3 separate regions of the Homo sapiens genome follow, and all the other regions are linked to region 2. Evidence: promoter capture Hi-C in 16 types of primary human blood cells and fetal thymus (Javierre and others, 2016). All regions are on one chromosome and are shown on one strand. Each heading gives the region's core, a stretch centred on a gene start or on the middle of the fragment in contact. The rest is flanking DNA. Distances are from core to core; before and after follow the strand shown. Region 1 has its middle 6.8 kb from the start of AXIN1. Region 2 holds the start of LUC7L (LUC7 like). Region 3 overlaps RAB11FIP3 (RAB11 family interacting protein 3).

What was found. The method cuts DNA at HindIII sites, captures the fragments that hold promoters and counts their contacts. A CHiCAGO score of 5 or more calls a contact.
Region 1: a contact is called between a fragment that was not itself captured here and the fragment with the promoter of LUC7L in region 2, in 15 of 17 cell types (naive CD4 T cells, total CD8 T cells, naive CD8 T cells and 12 more). The highest score is 19.9, in naive CD4 T cells.
Region 3: a fragment that was not itself captured here is called in contact with the fragment with the promoter of LUC7L in region 2 in 2 of 17 cell types (naive CD4 T cells and neutrophils); the score reaches 5.4 in naive CD4 T cells.

What each region holds. Positions count from the first base shown.
Region 1 is chr16:357,656-361,451 of GRCh38, reverse strand. No RefSeq gene overlaps it. Among named protein-coding and RNA genes, the nearest start is that of AXIN1, 6.8 kb to the right of the region's middle. RefSeq lists an enhancer at 1-578. The HindIII fragment of the contact is 6,075 bases long and covers 1-3,796 here.
Region 2 is chr16:228,092-231,409 of GRCh38, reverse strand. It overlaps LUC7L (LUC7 like), which reads left to right and starts at 1,961. Exons shown (of 10, transcript NM_201412.3): 1 at 1,961-2,131. The coding sequence starts at 2,071. It also overlaps the pseudogene C4orf46P1. RefSeq lists an enhancer at 1,589-2,285 and a silencer at 2,118-2,347. The HindIII fragment of the contact is 7,539 bases long and covers 1-3,318 here.
Region 3 is chr16:428,386-431,722 of GRCh38, reverse strand. The region is part of intron 1 of RAB11FIP3 (RAB11 family interacting protein 3); the gene reads right to left. Among named protein-coding and RNA genes, the nearest start is that of RAB11FIP3, 4.4 kb to the right of the region's middle. The HindIII fragment of the contact is 3,069 bases long and covers 433-3,337 here.

The DNA.
Region 1 (3,796 bases), core at 856-3,355, 130 kb before region 2:
GTGGGGCGTGAGCAGGCACACGGAGCCAGGCAGGTGAGGTAAGCCGGGCAGGCGGCCGGGCGGACAGGTGGACGCGCCTCCTCTGCCCATTGTTCTCGCGGCTGCGGCCCTGCCCTCGGCCCACCCCACCCTCGAGTGCAAGCCCACACGCAGCGCCCGCACCCTCACCCTCAGACCCTCTCCGGGTGTCCCGAGGAAGGGTCAGGGGAAGAGACAAAGGGAGCAGGGTGAGGCAGGATGAATCCTGACGGACCTCGGACCCCAAAACCGCCCCGGTGGGTCTTCCACGTCAGGTTTCACATGGAGGCGGCATCAAAGACCCCCGACTGATCCAGGCCGGCGTCCCGGCCGCCACTCCAAGGTTAGGAGACAAGCCATGTCAAGTCGGTGCCGTTTAAGCAGCATTTTTTCGAGGAGAAAAAAAAAAAAGAAACAGAAGCGATATAAAGAAAAAAAATGTCCACCTATGACACGGGAAGCGGCCAGCCCGATGGATCAGAAGCGCCAAATCCCATTACTCGGGACTTCAGGGACAGGCCCTGCAAGGGCAGCTGCGATTAAGAGCTTGTCAATGGACTCTCCTTTAGAGATCAAAGCGGGGCGTGCTTGTGTGTGTGTGCGTGTGCACGTGTGTGCGCGTGCACGCGTGTACGTGCAGGAGCGGACACTGTGGGGTGACAGCACAGAGGTCGTGCACCGCAGCACCACGGGGCCCATACGTCGCCGACGCGGCCACCTCCACACTGCTTGCGTCCTTGCTGCCGTGTGCGACGTGTGTGGACGCGGCTGGGGGCCTGGGCCGGGTACCTGGTCCCAACACCTGCACCCTTTCAAAGGCCTCCACCTCCTGCTAGAGGCCGTGCCTTCCCCAGGTTCTGCCCAGAGGAGCCCGCAGGGGCCGAGCTGGGTGTGAGGACAGCCGTGGCTGCGTCTCCTCCCCCCGACCACGTCCTGCTGCCCACAGAGGCCTTGAGCTCTCAGTTGGCCTGGCAGGCGCGCCCTGGGGGTTCAAAGCTCCCGTTGACACGATTGTTAGGTTATTAGGTAAACTCTGAGACGTAAATCTTTTAATCCACTGTGGCTAATCCGGTTCACTTTTGTTTGCCACGACAGACGCCGCGGCGACAAAGGGGCCTGGGGCCCAGCACACACAGTCACACGCTCAGAACTTGGCCGCGGCCTCAGGGTTCCTAGGCAGTGGAGAGAGACATCTTGGGACAGCCAAGCAGAGGGAGGCGGCGGAGGGCACAGGTGGGCGGGGGCGCAGGTGGGCCGGGGCAAAGGCAGCTGCCCGCTGGGGGCCGCACTTCCTCACCTCCCATTTAATGTCCCCTTGCCAGCTCGAGGGGGAACCGCTGGGCACTGGGGTGTGCAGGTATCGGGGCCGCTGGGGATAGTGGGCAGAAGGACAGATGAGCACCAACGGGGGGGCGGCAGCGCCCGGAGAGGCGTGTGGGATGGAGGCCGTCAGGGCAGGGAAGGGCGTTCAGGTGAGGGAACAGCAGGGACAAGGACTGTGGTCGGTGTGGCAGGGGCAGGAGTCCCCCCAACAAGGACAGGAAGCGGCCTGAGGCTGCCCAGGGAGGTGGGACGTCACCTGCTACTTCCCGAAGTCAGCGCGAGGCCCCTCGGGGCATGGCCCCTGCACTTGGATGCCACCTCTTTTTGGGAAAACAGCACTGAGGTTGGGGGAGGCCAGCAGGCCCTGCCCTGTGCTCACAATGTGCCTGGGACACCAGACCTGGTCCATGGCCAGCCGTGGGCTCCATCCCGCCACCCGGCCTGTCAGAGAGGGTCACACACGGACCTCTGGGGCTGTGAGGCCAGGTCAGGACGATCACTTTGCCCAGGGGGACACTGGCACAAGGAGGTGCCTGCTTTGCCTAGGGCTACAGGCTGGCCCAAGACAAGGATGGGCACTCAGGTCTCCTGGGAGGCAGGTGCCAGGCCAGGCCCAACAGTCCCCTGATGTCAGCAGCTCCCGAGTTGGGAAGTGGTGGCCGCCCTCCCCTCCTACTTCCCCAGCCCCTGCGGCCGGACCCTCCAGGCAGGCCTACTTGACCACATCCTGGTATCCACCTGGCCCCAGTCCCAGCCCCTGGACACCCTGGGGTCAGAACTCTTCAGAAAGGCAGTGCAGGAGGACTCCCCTCAGGACACTGGGAGGTGTGGACAGTACCCTGGGATGGAGGGGACCGCCTCTGGGCCGCCTGGCTGGCCAGGCCCCCGCCCTGTTGCCAGTGCTTTCCTGTTGGCCTTGGCGTCCTGACCCTTGACCCCTGGAGGCCAGCGGGGATGTGGGGACTGTCAGGTCTGCTGGACGGGGCTGGGCGCAGGCGACGTGGGTGACGGCAGGTCTGGGGCCTGCCCCAGGGGACAAGTATGGACCCGGAGCCAGCGGGGACCAAGCACTGTGGCCACAGCAGCCGTTTCATTTCTTTTTCTTTTTTTTTTTTTTTTTTGAGATGGAGTCTCACTCTGTTGCCCAGGCTGGAGTGCCTTGGCACAATCTTGGCTCACTGCAACCTCTGTCTCCTGGGTTCAAGTGATTCTCCTGCCCCAACCTCCCCAGTAGCCGAGATTACAGGGGCCTGCCACCATACCTGGCTAATTTTTTGCATTTTTAGTAGAGATGGGGTTTCACCACGTTGGCCAGGCTGGTCTCGAGCTCCTGACCTGAGGTGATACGCCCACCTTGGCCTCCCAAAGTGCTAAAATTACAGGCGTGAACCACTGTGCCTGGCCTAATTTTTGTATTTTTAGTAGAGACGGGGTTTCACCATGTTGGCCAGGCTGGTCTCGAACTCTTGACCTCAGGTGATCCACCCGCCTCAGCCTCCCAAAGTGCTGGGATTACAGGTGTGAGCCACCGAGCCTGGCCACACACAGCACCCGTTTCTTTGGGCCCCTGCCCCGCAGCGGCTGAGTGGTTCACCCTCCACCTCTCTGTGGGTGGGTCCTCCTGACCACAGGTGCCCAGCCAATGGTGGGTCCCGGGGGCAGAGGCCGTCAGGTCATCCATGGCCATGGTGACAGTCACACTGACCTGATATTGGAGCCAGGGCATATGAGGTAGGGCCCTGCTCCCCTTCCCCCAGGCCTCTGCCTTTTGTGGGGACCAGGATCACTCCTGGGGCATCTGCCCTGCGGAGGCAGCTTTGGCTACAGAGCTATGTGGACCACTCCAAATAGGAAGCGTGTTGCAACATAGTTGGATGACACACCTGCCCGACAGGTGTGAGGGGGAGAGGAGGAAGGACCTATCTAGGGGCACATCAGTGCTAAGGGGGCTGCCAGATGTGGAGGCCGGGGAGGCCCCAGCCCAAAGTGACACCAACAGCTGGGATGGCCCAGGAAGCCCCTGGCAGGGTGTGTCTCTCAGGAAGGTGGCAGAACCTCCATGCCAGGCCCCAGGCCACCGTGGGGCGATGTGGCTGCCATCAGCCGTGACCATCACCCTGCTGGACACACACTGCCCAGTGGTCAGTTCCACCCCTCAGGGCCTCAGCCGTGATGCCCGTCTCCTTCAGTGGGTTAACTTACACAGACCGTTCCACGGGACCATAACTGTTACATCCCTGTAGACATTCCTGAACATGCAAAGAAGAAAATGGAACTTCATGCTTCTGCTTCCACTAATAACACGTGGACTGTTTTGAGTCTTCTTGCCCTTTTTTTTTTTTTGAGATAGAGTCTCGCTCTGTCGCCCAGGCTGGAGTGCTGTGGCGCGATCTCAGCTCACTGCAACGTCCGCCTCCCGGGTTCAAGCGATTCTCCTGCCTCAGTGTCCCAAGTA
Region 2 (3,318 bases), core at 712-3,211:
ACGTGCCTTTTCTGTACATTTGAAGGCAAGTTCTTCCACTTGAGCTGATACTGCAGATGTGGCTTCAAGAAGTTTGGTTAATGAAAAGGCTGCGTCTCCGATCTGCAGCCCCACTTCCTCCAGCGGGTCCACCGTTCGGCCGCTGCTCCTGCTCGGAACTGGCCAGCCCAAACTCACTGGGCTGCCAGGGTAAGATGCTGCAGAGGCGTCTGAAGAGGAGGGAGAAGGAGGCGGCGGGGGCGGCGAAGAAACCTGCAACTTCTCAGGGTCGGCCATGGGGAAGGGCTGGCACCGCGGAATCCGACCCGAGCAGCCCAACGGACACCCTATTTATTTATTTTAAATAGAGAGCAGGGGCCTGGCGTTCTGGCTCACAGCTGTAATCCGAGGACTTTGGGAGGCTGAGGTGGGCGGATCACCTGAGGTTAGGAGTTTAAGACCAGCCTGGCCAACATGGCGGAACCCCGTCTCTGCAAAAGTACAAAAAAAAAGTTAGTCGGGAATGATGGCGGGTGCCTGTAATCCCAGCTACTGGGGAGACTGAGACAAGAGAATCGCTTGAACCCAGGAGTCAGAGGATGCAGGAAGCCGAGATCGCGCCACTGCACTCCAGGCTGGGCGACAGAGGGAGACTCCGTCTCAAAAATAAATAAAATACGGCAGGGCGCGGTGGCTCACGCCTGTAATCTCAGCACTTTGGGAGGCCGAGGCAGGCAGATCACAAGGTCAGAAGTTCAAGACCAGCCTGGCCAATACGGTACAACACCGTGTCTACCGAAAATACAAAAATCAGCTGGGCATGGTGGCTGGCTACTTGAGGTCAAGACTTTGAGACCAGCCTGGCCAGCATGGTGAAACCCCGTCTCTACTTAACATTCAAAAATTAGCCGGAGGGGGTGGCGGGCGCCTGAAATTCCAGCTACTGGGGAGACTGAGGCAGGAGAATCGCTTCAACCCGGGAGGCGGAGCTTACAGTGAGCCGAGATCGCGCCACAGCATTCCAGCCTGGGTGACAGAGCAAGACTCCGTCTCAAAAAAAAAATAAACAAATAAAAAATAAAGACCGGGCGTGGTGGCTCATGCCTGTAATCCCAGCACTTTGGGAGGTTGAGGCAGGAGAATCGCTTGAACCCAGGAGGCGGAGGTTGCGGAGAGCCAAGATCGCGCCATTGCACTCTAGCCTGGGCGAAACTCCGTCTCAAAAATAAATAAATAAATAATAGAGGTTTAATATAATAGAAGTATATGCCAGACTATGCACACATAAGTGCATGCTATAATTCTATTATCACATAAAATAACTGCTTACATATGCCTTTTCTTTAGTCCCTGGGACAGTAGACCATGAGCTCACAAAAGGACGACCACGAGGTTGTAATCATAGAACCTAATATTAATGCCATGACTGATGGCCAAACGTGGTGGTTCACACCAGTAATCCCAATACTTTGCCGGGCTGAGGCGGGAGGATAAGGAGCCGGGGAGGTCGAGGCTGCAGTGAGCGGTAATCGCGCCACTGCATTCCAGCCTGGGCGACGGAGCAAGACCCTCGCTCTAAATAAATAAATAAATAAATAAATAAAATTCCATGCTTTATTTAACTTTCACAAAAATCATATGAGGGGCACCTTTAGAACCCTCATTTCACAGATTTAAAAAAACGAGCGTCGGGGAGCTAAATAATATGCTCACGGTTTCATGGCTAGCTTAGAAAAAGCACGGATTCATCTTGTTTTTGATTGACTGTATTTCATTTTATTGTAGTTTACCCTCCGTAGAGACTCGTTTGAGGTCCTGGGGGTCTAGAGTAAAATCAGGGTTGGGATTTTGGTTCCGCCGTTGGACAACTTGCGACCACTCAGAGCCTCAGCCTCCCTAAGCACCCACCCCAGAAACTACATTTCCCAGCAGGGCGTGCGCCGGCGCCGTCGTACTTCCTCCCGGCGTCCCCCGCGGCGGGAAAGAGCCGAGTGGGCTCGAGGCCGACGCGACCATCGTTTGTCGACGCCGCTGCCACCGCCTGCCTGAGAGAAGTCGTCGCGGCCGACCCCGTCGCCTCCGCCGGCTACCATGTCCGCCCAGGCGCAGATGCGGGCCCTGCTGGACCAGCTCATGGGCACGGCTCGGGACGGTGAGTCAGAGCGGCCAACCAGGCGAGGGTCTGGGGTGGGAGTGAGGCGAGGCCGCCGGGCGGCCTGAGGCGGGGGCCGCGATCGTCTGCGCCTGCGCCTGCGCGGGGCATCGCTCCTCCTCCCCCGCGCTCCGACCGCAGGCGCCGGGCCTTTGTCTAAGCCGGTGCGTCTCTGAGGCGGCCGTGGGTCCAGGTCGGGCTCCTCTCTCGGAGTCTGCGCCATGGATGGGGCTTCAGCCTCCTTCCTATGTACCGTCCTGCTACTTCCTCCCCGGCGGGCGCCGCGGCTCCGTGCCCCTCCGCGAACTGTGGAGTCGGCGGAGGGCTGGAATCAGCGTGGGCTCCAGGTCGCTGGCAGCCGGGTGGCAGAACTCTTCCGAGGCTCCTTGGGAAGAAGCTACACCCGAGGGAGCCGGATGGGCCTCGAAAACCTGGCCCGCTCTGGTTCTGTACCATTGCAAGGGGAACCGTAAACTGAGCTTTTCTAACGTGGGTTTCTGCCAAGTACTTTTCCAGCTGCCCCCTTCCCCCCAGCACACAGGAGAGCCTCTGTGTAGCCAGCGCTTGACAGTCGTTAGGTAGGTTGTACTGTGTAGGGAGGAGCTCAAGATCATGATGGTTGTCACAGGAGAAAGCGGTTGCATCTTTGCAAAACTATATACCTGCTGTGGTTTGTGTTTTCTTTTCTGCTGAGTAATGAAGTTGTAAGTTCACACTGGCACATTCTCAGGGCTGTGCAGATTATTTGCACTTTATTTCATAGGTGAATAAGTGCTTTTTAGCTTTCTTTGTATATTGAGTTGCTTTTGAATTGCTTCCCATATTTTTATTTCATACAAACTGAACAATTGTGGCCCCTCTATTTTATTTATAAAGGTTCAGTGTATCTTTGCCTGCCTACATCAATCTGCAAGGGAGTTGCAGAAAGCCTCATGTTCATCGAGCCGTGAGTCACAACCAATTTCTAAGCTGTTATAACAAAAAAGTGTTTGCTTTTTTTCACAAGTAACTTTAAAAGTGTAGTTTAGAAAGAAAACATTTTCAATAAAAAGACACTACATTAATCCTGGATGCTTGCAAATCCTAAAATATATTCCTCCTCTAGCGTTGCACAGCTCTGTGTTGTATACACAGACTAGCTTTAAAATTTGTCACATACCACTTTACCTTTACTTTTATGTATCATT
Region 3 (3,337 bases), core at 718-3,217, 200 kb before region 2:
TTTATAGACAGTCACCTGTGTGTCTATGTCTGTGTTAAAAAAGGTCTGGGCCAGGTGCGGTGGCTCACATCTGTAATCCCAACACTTTGGGAGGCTGAGGCAGGTGGATCACTTGAGGTCTGGTGTTCGAGACCAGCCTAGTCAACACGGCGAAACCCCGTCTCTACTAAAAATATAAAAATTAGCCAGGCGTTGCACGCCTGTAGTCCAAGCTACTCAGGAGACTCAGGCAAGACAATCGCTTGAACCCACGTGGTGGAGGTTGCAGTGAACTGAGATTGTGCCACTGCACTCCAGCATGGGCAAGAGAGCAAGACTCTATTTCAAAAAAAAAAAAAAAGTCTGAAAAGAAATGTAGTAAAATAATGGGAATGTTATTTTTCTCAGGATAGTGGGATTATTGGTCATTTTCTGTTTTATACAACCCAAGCTTCATTTGCCTTTCAGCAATTCAGTCAGCATGTAGACCCAGAATACATACACTCACCTGCTCACACACATACATAATATGCCACTTACACACAAATATCCCACTCCCACATACACACATCCCTGATCCTGCAGACACATGCTCCCACACATCTCACCGCACACACATATTACACACACACACACCAGCTCACATATGTAACTGCTCACACACACACATGCTCACTCTCATTCACACACACTTTCACTCAAATTCAAGGCTAAGAGACTGGAAATGATACAGGGCAAATAAAAGGCGATGCCAGGCTGGGCGCTACGGCTCATGCCTGCAATCCCAGAACTTTGAGAGGCTGAGGCCCGAGGACGGTCGCTTGAGCCTGGGAGTTCAATAATATGCCTGGGCAGTATCACTATACTATACTTCATCTCTACAAAAATAATTTTTAAAAATGTTTGTATTTTTAGTAGAGACGGGGTTTCACCGTCTCCTGACCTCATGATCTGCCCGCCTCAGCCTCCCAAAATGCTGGGATTACAGGCGTGAGCCACTGCACCCAGCCAATTTTTTTAAATTAGCGGAGCATGGTCATGCCTGCCTATAGTCCCAGCTACTCAGGAGGCTAAGATGAGAGGACTGCTTGAGCCCAGGAGGTGGAGGTTGCAGTGAGCTGAGATCTTGCCACTGCACTTCAGACTGGGTGACAGAGTGAGATCCTGTCTCAAAACAAACGAACAAAAAGGTGCAGTCAAATGTCCCTAGGAACTTCCTACTGCCACCATTAGCGGTGCAGGAATAAAAAAACGTAGGGAGATCTGAGCATCGACACTTCCTTCGGCAGCCTATTTCTGCAAGTACTGAAGACAGACAATGCCTACCAAGGTTACTGAAGGACATTCTCTGAAAAGAATCAGTGGCTATTAAAACGCAACTGCTTAAGTGACTGTAAAAATAACATGTAAATTACAGTTATAATCTTTAAAAACAAAACAAAATTAAAGTAATCCTTTCTCACAACACTCTTAGAATTTATTTTACAATCTCTGCTTCATGATAGGTGGCAGTAAATACAAAAGCATCAGTCCTCTCAGTATGAAGGGGTCATGTCAATCTCCAGAGATGGTTGAAGCCTTAAAAATCACCTATTCCAACTTCATACCTAATTCCTGGACACATCTGACTATAAATTCCTGTTTCAAAAAAATATAACCAGAAAGCTCCACTTGCTCCTTTCATGTGCTGATTTCTGCTAACACAACACTGTGTTATATTACACTACACCTGATCTATCACCAGATGACGTAATTAGATCCAAACACACCATGACATTGCTAAAGAAACAGGGACACAAAAGCCATCTGTATTATAAACAGGAGCTGCTTCTATTAAAAATTCAGATAATCCATTTAAATAATTTAAAATGCTACCTTCATAAACAGATTACATAGAAGATACTCAATATGCTACCTCTGAAAATTTGATAAAAATTAAGATACTTGGCCGGGCACAGTGGCTCATGCCTGTAATCCCAGCACTTTGGGAGGCCGAGGCGGGTGGATCACCTGAGGTCAAGAGTTCAAGACCAGCCTGGCCAACATGGCAAAACCGTCTCTACTAAAAATACAAAAAATAGCCAGGTGTGGTGACGGGCACCGGTAATCCCAGCTACTCGGGAGGCTGAAGCAGGAGAATCGCTTGAACCCGGGAGGCAGAGGTTGCAGTGAGCCGAGATCACACCATTGCACTCCAGCCTGGGCGACAGAGCAGGCGAGACTCCATCTCAAAAAAAAAAAAAAATTAAGATAATCTAGTTGTTATCATCAAGGACAGTAATGTGACTGGACTAAGAGTCTCTCATGTGCTCAATATTTTGAAATCTCAAGGTAGAAAGTACAAAAACTTATGACCTTTATTGCTGTTATCCAGTTAATCTGAACTGTTCCCTAGCGTTTTTAAAAAAATCATTAATGTCTTTAAAAGAATCGGTATCTTTTGGAAATATATACTGAAGCATTTATGGAAGAAATGATATAATGTCAGGAACCCACTTCAAAAATCATCTGGGGGTAGTGAGTGGTGAGTTTACAGATGAACCAAGACTGCTAAAACTGAGCAATGGCTACAGGGTTACATAACATGAAAATCAACCTTTCTTTACCCTGTAAATTATCTGTTGCCAAACAGTAACTTAGCTTTAAGAAATCAAGAGCTCTCCTCCATCCCAGGAAGCCGGCCCAAGTCCAGGCACTCAGATCACACCCAACATTGCTTCTTCCTAAGCCGTCTAGAAGAACAGACAAGGAGTAATACCACAGGAGATCCCTTCCACTTCCCCATCCTCACCAAATCCCAAGTCATCCAGCCCTTGCCCCCAACCTTCGAATTTCATCAAGAGCTCTTGGAATTCAGAGTGAAGAATTTTGTCTCATTTCTACTTTGTGATGACAAGAAAGCTCAGCCCCAAATAGCAACACAAAGTTTTTCCCATTGTGATCATTAAGGGAGGTTATGACAAAAGATGTTTCTCAAATAAAAAGAATTGTATGAAAGTCAGTAAGATATTATCACAATAGGGATATTGTGAGCCACCACATCTAAGAAGAGGCATCTAAGGTCTAAGGGCCAAAAGACCTAGTTCTACTCCTGTGAGACCTTGGGAGAGCTATCTGACCTTTCTGGGTTTCCAGTTTCTTACCTGTAAAGTGGGGATGAATCCTGCTTACCTACTATCTCAGAGAACTGTGGTATGATCCAGTGGAAACATCCTGAGCCTCACAGAAGTTCTCTATCAAGAGTTGGGTTATGGTAACAAGGAGCAAATGTGGTACTCTCCTAACTTCTTTGCTGTACTGAAGCAAGAGTATGTTTGGGAGAAGAGACAGCGCAGTAGCCAACAGCAACCAAGGGAGC